Linked DNA regions of Homo sapiens: regions 1 and 2 are each linked to region 3. Evidence: promoter capture Hi-C in 16 types of primary human blood cells and fetal thymus (Javierre and others, 2016). All regions are on one chromosome and are shown on one strand. Each heading gives the region's core, a stretch centred on a gene start or on the middle of the fragment in contact. The rest is flanking DNA. Distances are from core to core; before and after follow the strand shown.

Region 1 (2,700 bases), core at 166-2,665, 610 kb after region 3:
CTTCCTTCTCCTTTCCTCGCCTCACCTCGGTTCCCTTCCCCTCCCCCTTTCCAGCCCTCCCCCACGTCTCCCCACCGCCCTCCCCCTCCCCCCTCCCTTCTGCAGCTCTCCTTCCCCTCCGAGGCCCCCGCCTCCCTTCCCCCTCTGTCTCCCCAGCAGGCTCCAGCTTCGCTTCCCTCCCCGTCCCCAGTCCCCAGAACCGCTCTTCCCCTCCCCCCTCCCAGGCTGCTTCCCAGCTCCCGGGTCCTCCGGCCCCCAAGCCTGGGGGTCTAGGGCTGACCCGCTCTCTCGGGACCTTCCCGCGGGCCCTGCCCTCCCCACTCCGTCTCCCCTCCGAACACCCCTCCGCGCCTCTCTTCTCCGCCGCGGCGCCCCCTCCCTATTTCTGCTCCCCTCGGACTTCTCACCCCTCCCAAGTTTTCCTCCCGACGGGACCCTCAGCTCCACCTCCCTGCCCCGCCGCCCTCCCAAGCAGCTCCGATCGCCGACTTCATTCCAGGTCCCGGCCCCCTCCCCAGCTCCGGGGCTCACCTGTCAGCGCCCTCCTCTCCCGCCCCTACCGAGTGGCCCGGTCCCCAGCGCCCGCTTCTTCCTCCCCTTCCCCCTCGGCCCCCTCCCACACTCCCTCTCTCCTCCCCTCGGGGCCCGTCGTCCCCCTTCCCACCTGCCTCCCGCCCGACCCCCTCCCAGCCCCCGCCCTTCCCTCCAGCCCCCCCGGTCTCCTCTACCCCCACAGCCCTCACCCTGCCCGCGCCGGCCTTGCCCTCCCTTCCCCCCAGCCCCCGACCTCCCCGGACCCGCGCCCCTCCCCCACGCCCGCCGTCCGCGCCCCTACCCCCGGGGCTGTCACCTGCGCGGAGCCGGCCGTGACCCAACCGCGGCGCTGAGGGAGACGCGGGCGGGGCCGCCTGCAGAGGAGCCTCCCCGGCCCTTACCTGGCTGGCCGGCCGCTCCGCCCGCGCCGCGGGGACCCAGGCGCCCGGGCCTCCTGCCCCGCCGGCTCTGCTCACAATGGCGCTCGCCGCCTGCAGCTCGGGTGCTGACGGCCTGAAAGACTGACAGACTGACAGCCCCGAAACTTCGCGGGGAGGAGAGGGATAGACGCGCGGGGAGTCGAAGCCGGGAAACGGCGCCTGCAAGGGAGGAGGGACCGAGGGAGCGGGCGGAGAGCCCCGGCGCACCGGGCTGGGGGAGGCAGGGGCAGGGGGTTTCAGGAGTGGGGTCCCAGGAGGGAGCACCGTGGGCTTAGGTGGGCAGGTGATGGTCCTAAGGCTCCGAGCCTGGAGTAGGTGTGGAAGTGGGAGCTCAGGACGGGGGAGGGGAGGGGAGGGGAGGGGAGGGTGATGGGAGAGGGGGTGGAGGAGGGCGAGGAGGCTGGGGAGGACAGGCACTCGGGCTGCGGGGAAGGGTGCCAAGGGAGGGTGCTCGCGGCCGCGGAGGGAGGAGCCGGGGAAAGGTGGAGCGCGAACGGGTGGGGGGGTGGCGGGGAGGAGTTGGGGGAACGAGGAGGGGCCGTGTCGGGGGGGAGCCAGCGAGTCGTGCGCTGCCGTCTCTAAGTCGCCGGTGCCAGCCGGGTGTGCAGCGCCGCGCTCCCGCGGGAGGACGGCCCGGGGGGTCGGTCTGGGAAACTCCGGCCCCGCCCCCATTCTCCACCCGGATTCCACCCCGATCCACCCAGACCCGCAGCCCCTCGCCTGGAGTCCCGAGGACCCGATTCGAAACCAGCCGCGGGAGCCGTGGGGGCAGGCGGGAGAGAGGGCTGGGCCCCTGTGCTTGCGAGAACGGGTCCTTCGAAGTAGAAACTGGGGAGAGGACTTTAAGCCAGGTCCCCTGGGAGAAGGCCGGGCCAGGTCGGGAGCTCCAGGGGGCAAGGCTGGGACGGGGCTGGGCGGAGATTCTGAGGGCGGGGTCCGGGGGAGGGTCTGGGAGGGGGCTGCAGAGAGGGGAGGGCTCTATGGGCGGGAGACGATTGCTGGGGGGCCTGCTGGCCCGGACACCACCTGGAGTTAGATGTGGAGGGCAGCCCTCAGCCCTCAGCCCTCAGCCCCAGCTCCTCAGGGGACTCCACTCGCCCTCCCTGCCCAGGTTACGAGGTTTCTCCTTGGCCTTGTTCCCGCTGCGCCCACTCCTGAAAGCTCCGGAGATGCTGAAGTCTGGACTGTTAGTTCCCGGTCTCCTCTCCATGAACTTTCTCCAAACCCCTGGGTTCCAGCTTCCTCCCTTCTGCCCCTTTACGGGAAAGGGTGACTGCAACTCGGGTCTCTTCCCAATCCCAGTGCTGCCTGATCAGCCCCGGTTTGAATCCAGAGCTGAGTGAGGCTGGGAAGGGGAGGGTGTGAATGGCCCTTGAGCTCCTGCTACCACAGCCCACCACAAGGATGAGTGCCTGGAAGAGCGCCCATCACTCGGGCTCAGCTGTGAAGGCTCCTCTGCCTCCAGGATGAAGGGAGCACCTGGAGTAGCATGTGTCACTGTGCGTGCTGGGGTGTGGCCGAGCACCTGTGCCGGTGTTGTGAGACTTACAGTGAGAGTGTGCATGTGTGTAAAACAGGAAAGGGGGGTGTCTGGGTGTGCGTGTGGCTCTTTCTGAGGACTCCAGAGCAGGAGTTGATCCCAGTCATCCGTGACCCCCTGAGAGACTCACTCTGGGCCCTTTTTTGGCCCTGGGACCAATGGTGAACCCAGGAGAAGGAGAGCCCG
Region 2 (2,700 bases), core at 14-2,513, 570 kb before region 3:
AGCACCTCTAGACTCACCAGCCCCACCAGCCCCTCTGGCCCCTCCAGCCCCACCAGCCCCACCAGCCCCACCAGCCCCTCCAGCCCCTCCAGCTCTGCTGCAGGAAATCCTGCCTCAGGGAATCATGATGCACCACCCAAGGAAGTATTTGCAGAAAAAAGAGATTCCATTATTGCCTTCCCTCAAGGGTGGTGTTGAGCCCATTAAGCTTTTCCCCAGCAGTACACAGAGTAATCTTAGGGATTCTGGTGGGAAAAATATCCCAAATTCTGCTTCCTTATGCTTCACCACATGACCCTAGGGCACACGCACTAATCAAGAACAGCCCAGGGCATCCTGTCACCCCCCACGGTGCACCTGCAAACTGGCTTTTACAGCAACCTTGTCTTCCAAATGGGTCCGTATCTTTCTAGGCATCTTTTGTAATGCTAACCTGTTTGGCATTACCCAGAAATGCTAACATTTCTACCACTTTAACTAATCTTAAGAGATTAAATCACACTCCATGATACTCCTGACAACAAATAGCATTTTAACCAGTAATTTACGATAAGAAGATTTTCAATCAGTGGGCTAAGCCCTTCCCTGGTGATTTAAGAAACTGCCAGCCTCGATGGAGATTCTTCCATCAATTCCTCATCATTATAAAAGAAACAATGGAGGAAAAACTCATCCAATTAAGTGACAATTCCAATGTGTAAATCTTGTAATATTTTTTGCATTTGTGATATGGGTTCTACACTAAAAATGCAACTTGTCTAATCTGAATGAGATGAAAAATCCTGAAAAAGGATGTTATCCTCAATATTTTGTTTGTGCCTCTTGATTTAGTAAACTCCCAACCACTTTTTCATCCTTCCCTGCCAAACCCCGCTACAAAATGTTTCTCATTATGACCTGAGACATTAATTCTGATTGTAGAGGTTTTAGATCATTTCTTCTAGGTGTTAATCAGTTCTGGCCATATGGTGAGGGTGAGGTAATCATTATTACTTTACAATGAATGCCCTTAATTACTTTTTCAGTAGTAATATTAGTCCTTCTGTTTATTTGAGTACCTAAGAGCTGCAGGCAACGTGATCTGAATTACATGGAGGACAAGCTCCAGCTGACTTTCCGTAAACTCGCATTAGGATTCTAATAGGAGACGACAGGAGCAGGTGGGGATAATGAGCTGGCGGAAGGGGCTGCCTATCACACTGCTCGGTGGCCCCTCTTTCACCCCCACTTTGCCTCAGGCATTTTCTACTCAGCTGTGACCTTACTTATGGTGATGCCAATCCAGTGGTCAGGAGCGAGGCGCCCAGCCTGTGTCTGAATCCTCCTACTGACCCTGGGGATCCGTGCGACTTGATCTTAGATATTGGTGGTGAAGCGCCGCTCTCCTTGACAGCATCCAGGAAAGGTAATTACCTTTGCCAAAATGCAAGTGGAAGTTCAAAGCCTCAGCCTTGAAGAGTGTCCCTGGAGACTTCCAGGCCCCCAATGTGAATGTGAAGCCCTCCTGCCCAGTGGGGCAAGGCGCCGGATTGACCTTCGCCTGAGTGGGAGGGCAGTCGCTGTTTGGGTCCACGTTAGGGGCGGTCCAGGTCAATTTAACTTGTCATATGCCACGGGAAGACATAAGGTAAGTTAATGATTCTAAGATGAATCAACTGCTCTTTGAGTCAGTCAGTATCTCTTGAGAATTCATTCACTCAATCCATGAATGTTTTTGACTCTCTACTATGTGTTATGGAACTGGGCTTAACGACATTGAAGTAAAGAGAGAGACAGAGATTAATTCACTGCCCCAAAGAAGGCCTGGAATCTTCTTAGGGAAAAGAATCCTCACAAAACACTCCACTGAGTATTCTTGTGTTTAGCCTGAGTCATGTTGATTTGAAAAATTCCAGCGTAAAAATTGTATATTTTCACACAGTGTGGTAGAAGGAATGCGCTTGTTCTCAGACTATGTTTTGCCCTGGAGATGGGTCCACAGGAAGCCTCTATCTTGGTCACCCTTTGGCACAAGCTTTGCACCTGTTCCCTTCTCCTTGCCTAGATTCTTGTCTCTTCTCTCGCTTTAAAGACCAGGAGTTGTTGTTGTTGTTTTAGAGATAGTATCTTGCTCTGTCACCCAGGCTGGAGTGCAGTGTCACAATCATAGCTCACTGCAGCATCAACCTCCTGGCTTCAAGTGATCCTCCCAGAGGAGCCTCCCGGGTGGCTAGGACTACAGCCATGTGCCATCAGGCTTAGCTAATTTTTTTATTTTTTGTAGAAATGGGGTCTTGCCATGTTGCCCAGGCTGGTCTTGAACTCCTGTCCTCAAACGATCCTCCCACTTCAACATCCCGAAGTGCCACCCATGCCCAGCAAGACCTGGATCCTTAACTCTTTGCCTGTCTTTGATCTTTGACACCTCCTGATCCCCAAGCCCCTGCCTCCCACTAGGCAGGCATTTTTGGTTAAAGTATGAGCTCCCACTTTGTATTTATCTCCAGCTTTGGGTGTTCAGTTTGATGGGAACCACAGGTGTCCCCACCTAGTTCTCCAGCCCTAATTTGTTTTCTCCCATGTTGCAGTTCCTGGCTTCTTCCCATTTGCCCACACCCTCATTGTGGCACAGTGCCCCAAACTGACACATGCCACAGGCTCAGAGTATCTTCTGATATGAAGAATGACTCTGGTCATTCGAGGGCAGAGAGGATTTCATGA
Region 3 (2,700 bases), core at 24-2,523:
TGAGACACTGTGCCTGGCCCCACAGCTGGCTAATTTTTAAATTTCTTTATACAGACAGGATCTCACTATGTTGTCCAGGCTGGTTTCGAACTCCTAACCTCAAGTGATGCTCCTGCCTTGGCCTCCCAAAGTGCTGAGATTACAGGCATGAGCCAGTGCACCTGGCCTGAATTATAGATTGCAAGACTGGGGAAAGATGTAGAACTATATAACCAGCTGCTTAGTGTTGATCCCACAAGAGGCAACAAATGAGTAGAGGAACTTGTTTGAGAAAAAGTCCATTTGTTTCAGAAATTAAAATAATTCATAGGCTGGCTGGGCACAGTGGTTCACGCCTGTACTCCCAGCACTTTGGGAGGCCGAGGTGGGCAGATCGCCTGAGGTCAGGAGTTTGAGACTAGCCTGGCCAACATGGCAAACCCCTGGGTGGGGGGAGGGGGGCGGCGGAGGTTGCAGTGAGCTGAGATCGTGCCATTGCACTCCAGCCTGGGCAACAGAGCGAGAGTCTGTCTCAAAAAATATATATATATTCATTCAGAGGCTGAAGTAGCAGATTTAACGGCTGAAAAAGAGAATTCTGGTGCTCAGTTAGAAAACGTCCTAAGAATACAGGTGTGACAGTTGGCTGAGATGCAGTTACAGTCAGGTCCCAGTAGGCCAAAAATGTCACGTAAACTGTAGGTTAAATGCTCGGAAAAAGAGCCACAATCAAACAATGAACAAAATACCTGTTTTGTTTGTTTGTTTGTTTGTTTTTTTCAGACAGAGTTTCACTCCTGTCGCCCAGGCTGGAGTGCAGTGGCGTGATCTCAGCTCACTGGAACCTCCGCCTCCCAGGTTCAAGCGATTCTCCTGCCTCAGCCTCTTGAGTAGCTGGGATTACAGGCATGCGCCATCATGCCCAGCTAATTTTTTTTTTTTTTTTTTGAGATGGAGTTTTGCCCTTGTCGTGCAGGCTGAAGTACAATGGTGTGATCTCGGCTCACCGCAACCTCCGCCTCCCGAGTTCAAGCGATTCTCCTGCCTCAGCCTCCCAGGTAGTTGGGACTACAGGCCTGTGCCACCACGCCCCTGGCTAATTTTGTATTTTTAGTAGAGACGGGGTTTCTCCATATTGGTCAGGCTGGTCTTGAACTCCCGACCTCAGGTGAGCCACCGCGCCCGGCCAAGCCCAGCTAATTTTTGTGTTTTTAGTAGAGACAGGGTTTCGCCATGTTGGTCAGGCTGGCCTCAAACTGCTGACCTTGGGTGATCCACCCGCCTTGGCCTTCCAAAGTTCTAGGAGCCACTGCGCCTGGCCAAAGTACCTTTTTAATCATTAAAGATTACATAAAACTGAACAAGAAAGAAATACCCTGACCAGGCTGGGAGTGGTGGCGGTGGCTCACGCCTGTAATCCCAGCACTTTGGGAGGCTGAGGTAGGTGAATCATTTGAGGTCAGGAGTCGAGCCCCACCTGACCAATATGGTGAAACCCCGTGTCTACTAAAAATACAAAAATGAGCCAGGCGTGATGGTGTGCACCTGTAATCCCAGCTACTTGGGAGGCTGAGGCAGGAGGATTGCTTGAACCCAGGAGACAGAGGTTGCAGTGAGCCGAGATAGCGTCACTGCACTCCAGCCTGGGTGATGGAGCAAGACTCCATCTTAAAAAAAGAAAGAGGGCCGGGCGCAGTGGCTTGAGCCTGTAATCCCAGCACTTTGGGAGGCCGAGGCGGGCAGATCACAAGGTCAGGAGATCGAGACCATCCTGGCTAACACGGTGAAACCCCATCTCTACTAAAAATACAAAAAATTAGCCGGGCGTGGTGGTGGGCGCCTGTAGTCCCAGCTACTTGGGAGGCTGAGGCAGGAGAAGGGCGTGAACCCGGGAGGCAGAGCTTTCAGTGAGCCAAGATCGCACCACTGCACTCCAGCCTGGGTGACAGAGCAAGACTCCGTCTCAAAAAAATAAAAATAAAAATAAAAAAAGAGAAAGAAAGAAATACACTGAGCACTAAAGTCAAAGAACGAAACTTTCAAGCATACTAGAAATAACAGCCATGAAACTAGAGGCAGCAAGAGTGAGCTAGAAAGGGAAAGGAAAAAGATTCAAAGTGAACTGGATGGTTTACTGTCAGACAATGAAATTCTGAGACCAGCTATTGAACACCACAAAGTGCCCTTAGTAAAAAAAGATCATATATTAATATGTAAGGCACCAGATGCCAAGGAAGAAGGTTGTAAAAGACTTCTGGCATTACAGGATGAAAAGCTAGAATTTGAAAACAAGTTAGCAGATAGAAAATGAAAGTGGATCATGATGTCTGCAAGCAATGTGAAAAGCATCAGTGTGAAAAGAAATTGTGGGAGGCCGGGCACGGTGGCTCACACCTGTAATCCCAGCACTTTGGGAGGCTGAGGCAGGTGGATCACGAGGTCAGGAACTCGAGACCAGCCTGACCAACGTGGTGAAACCCCATTTCTACTAAAAATACAAGAATTAGCGGTGTGTGGTGGCGGGTGCCCGTAATCCTGGCTACTTGGGAGGCTGAGGCAGGAGAATTGCTTGAACTCGGGAGGCAGAGGTTGCAGTGAGACGAGATCGCGCCACTGCACTCCAGCCTGGGTGTACAGCGAGACTCTGTCTCTAAAAAAAAAAAAGAAAAGAAAGAAAGAAAATGCAGAGGAAGAAAAAAACGAAAATTTTGACCTGGAATA

What was found. Contacts are between HindIII fragments. The CHiCAGO score rates a contact against its expected background, and 5 or more counts as called.
Region 1: the fragment with the promoter of ZNF467 here is called in contact with a fragment that was not itself captured in region 3 in 1 of 17 cell types (neutrophils); the score reaches 5.0 in neutrophils.
Region 2: a contact is called between the fragment with the promoter of C7orf33 here and a fragment that was not itself captured in region 3, in 1 of 17 cell types (fetal thymus). The highest score is 6.4, in fetal thymus.

What each region holds. Positions count from the first base shown.
Region 1 is chr7:149,772,173-149,774,872 of GRCh38, forward strand. It overlaps ZNF467 (zinc finger protein 467), which reads right to left and starts at 1,416. Exons shown (of 5, transcript NM_207336.3): 1 at 936-1,416. RefSeq lists a silencer at 859-1,038. The HindIII fragment of the contact is 21,836 bases long and covers 1-2,700 here.
Region 2 is chr7:148,589,503-148,592,202 of GRCh38, forward strand. C7orf33 (chromosome 7 open reading frame 33) reads left to right here and starts at 1,264. Exons shown (of 3, transcript NM_145304.4): 1 at 1,264-1,627. The coding sequence starts at 1,424. The HindIII fragment of the contact is 1,806 bases long and covers 207-2,012 here.
Region 3 is chr7:149,162,463-149,165,162 of GRCh38, forward strand. All of the region lies in intron 2 of ZNF398 (zinc finger protein 398), which reads left to right. It also overlaps the pseudogene LOC100420549. Among named protein-coding and RNA genes, the nearest start is that of ZNF398, 16 kb to the left of the region's middle. The HindIII fragment of the contact is 3,642 bases long and covers 1-2,700 here.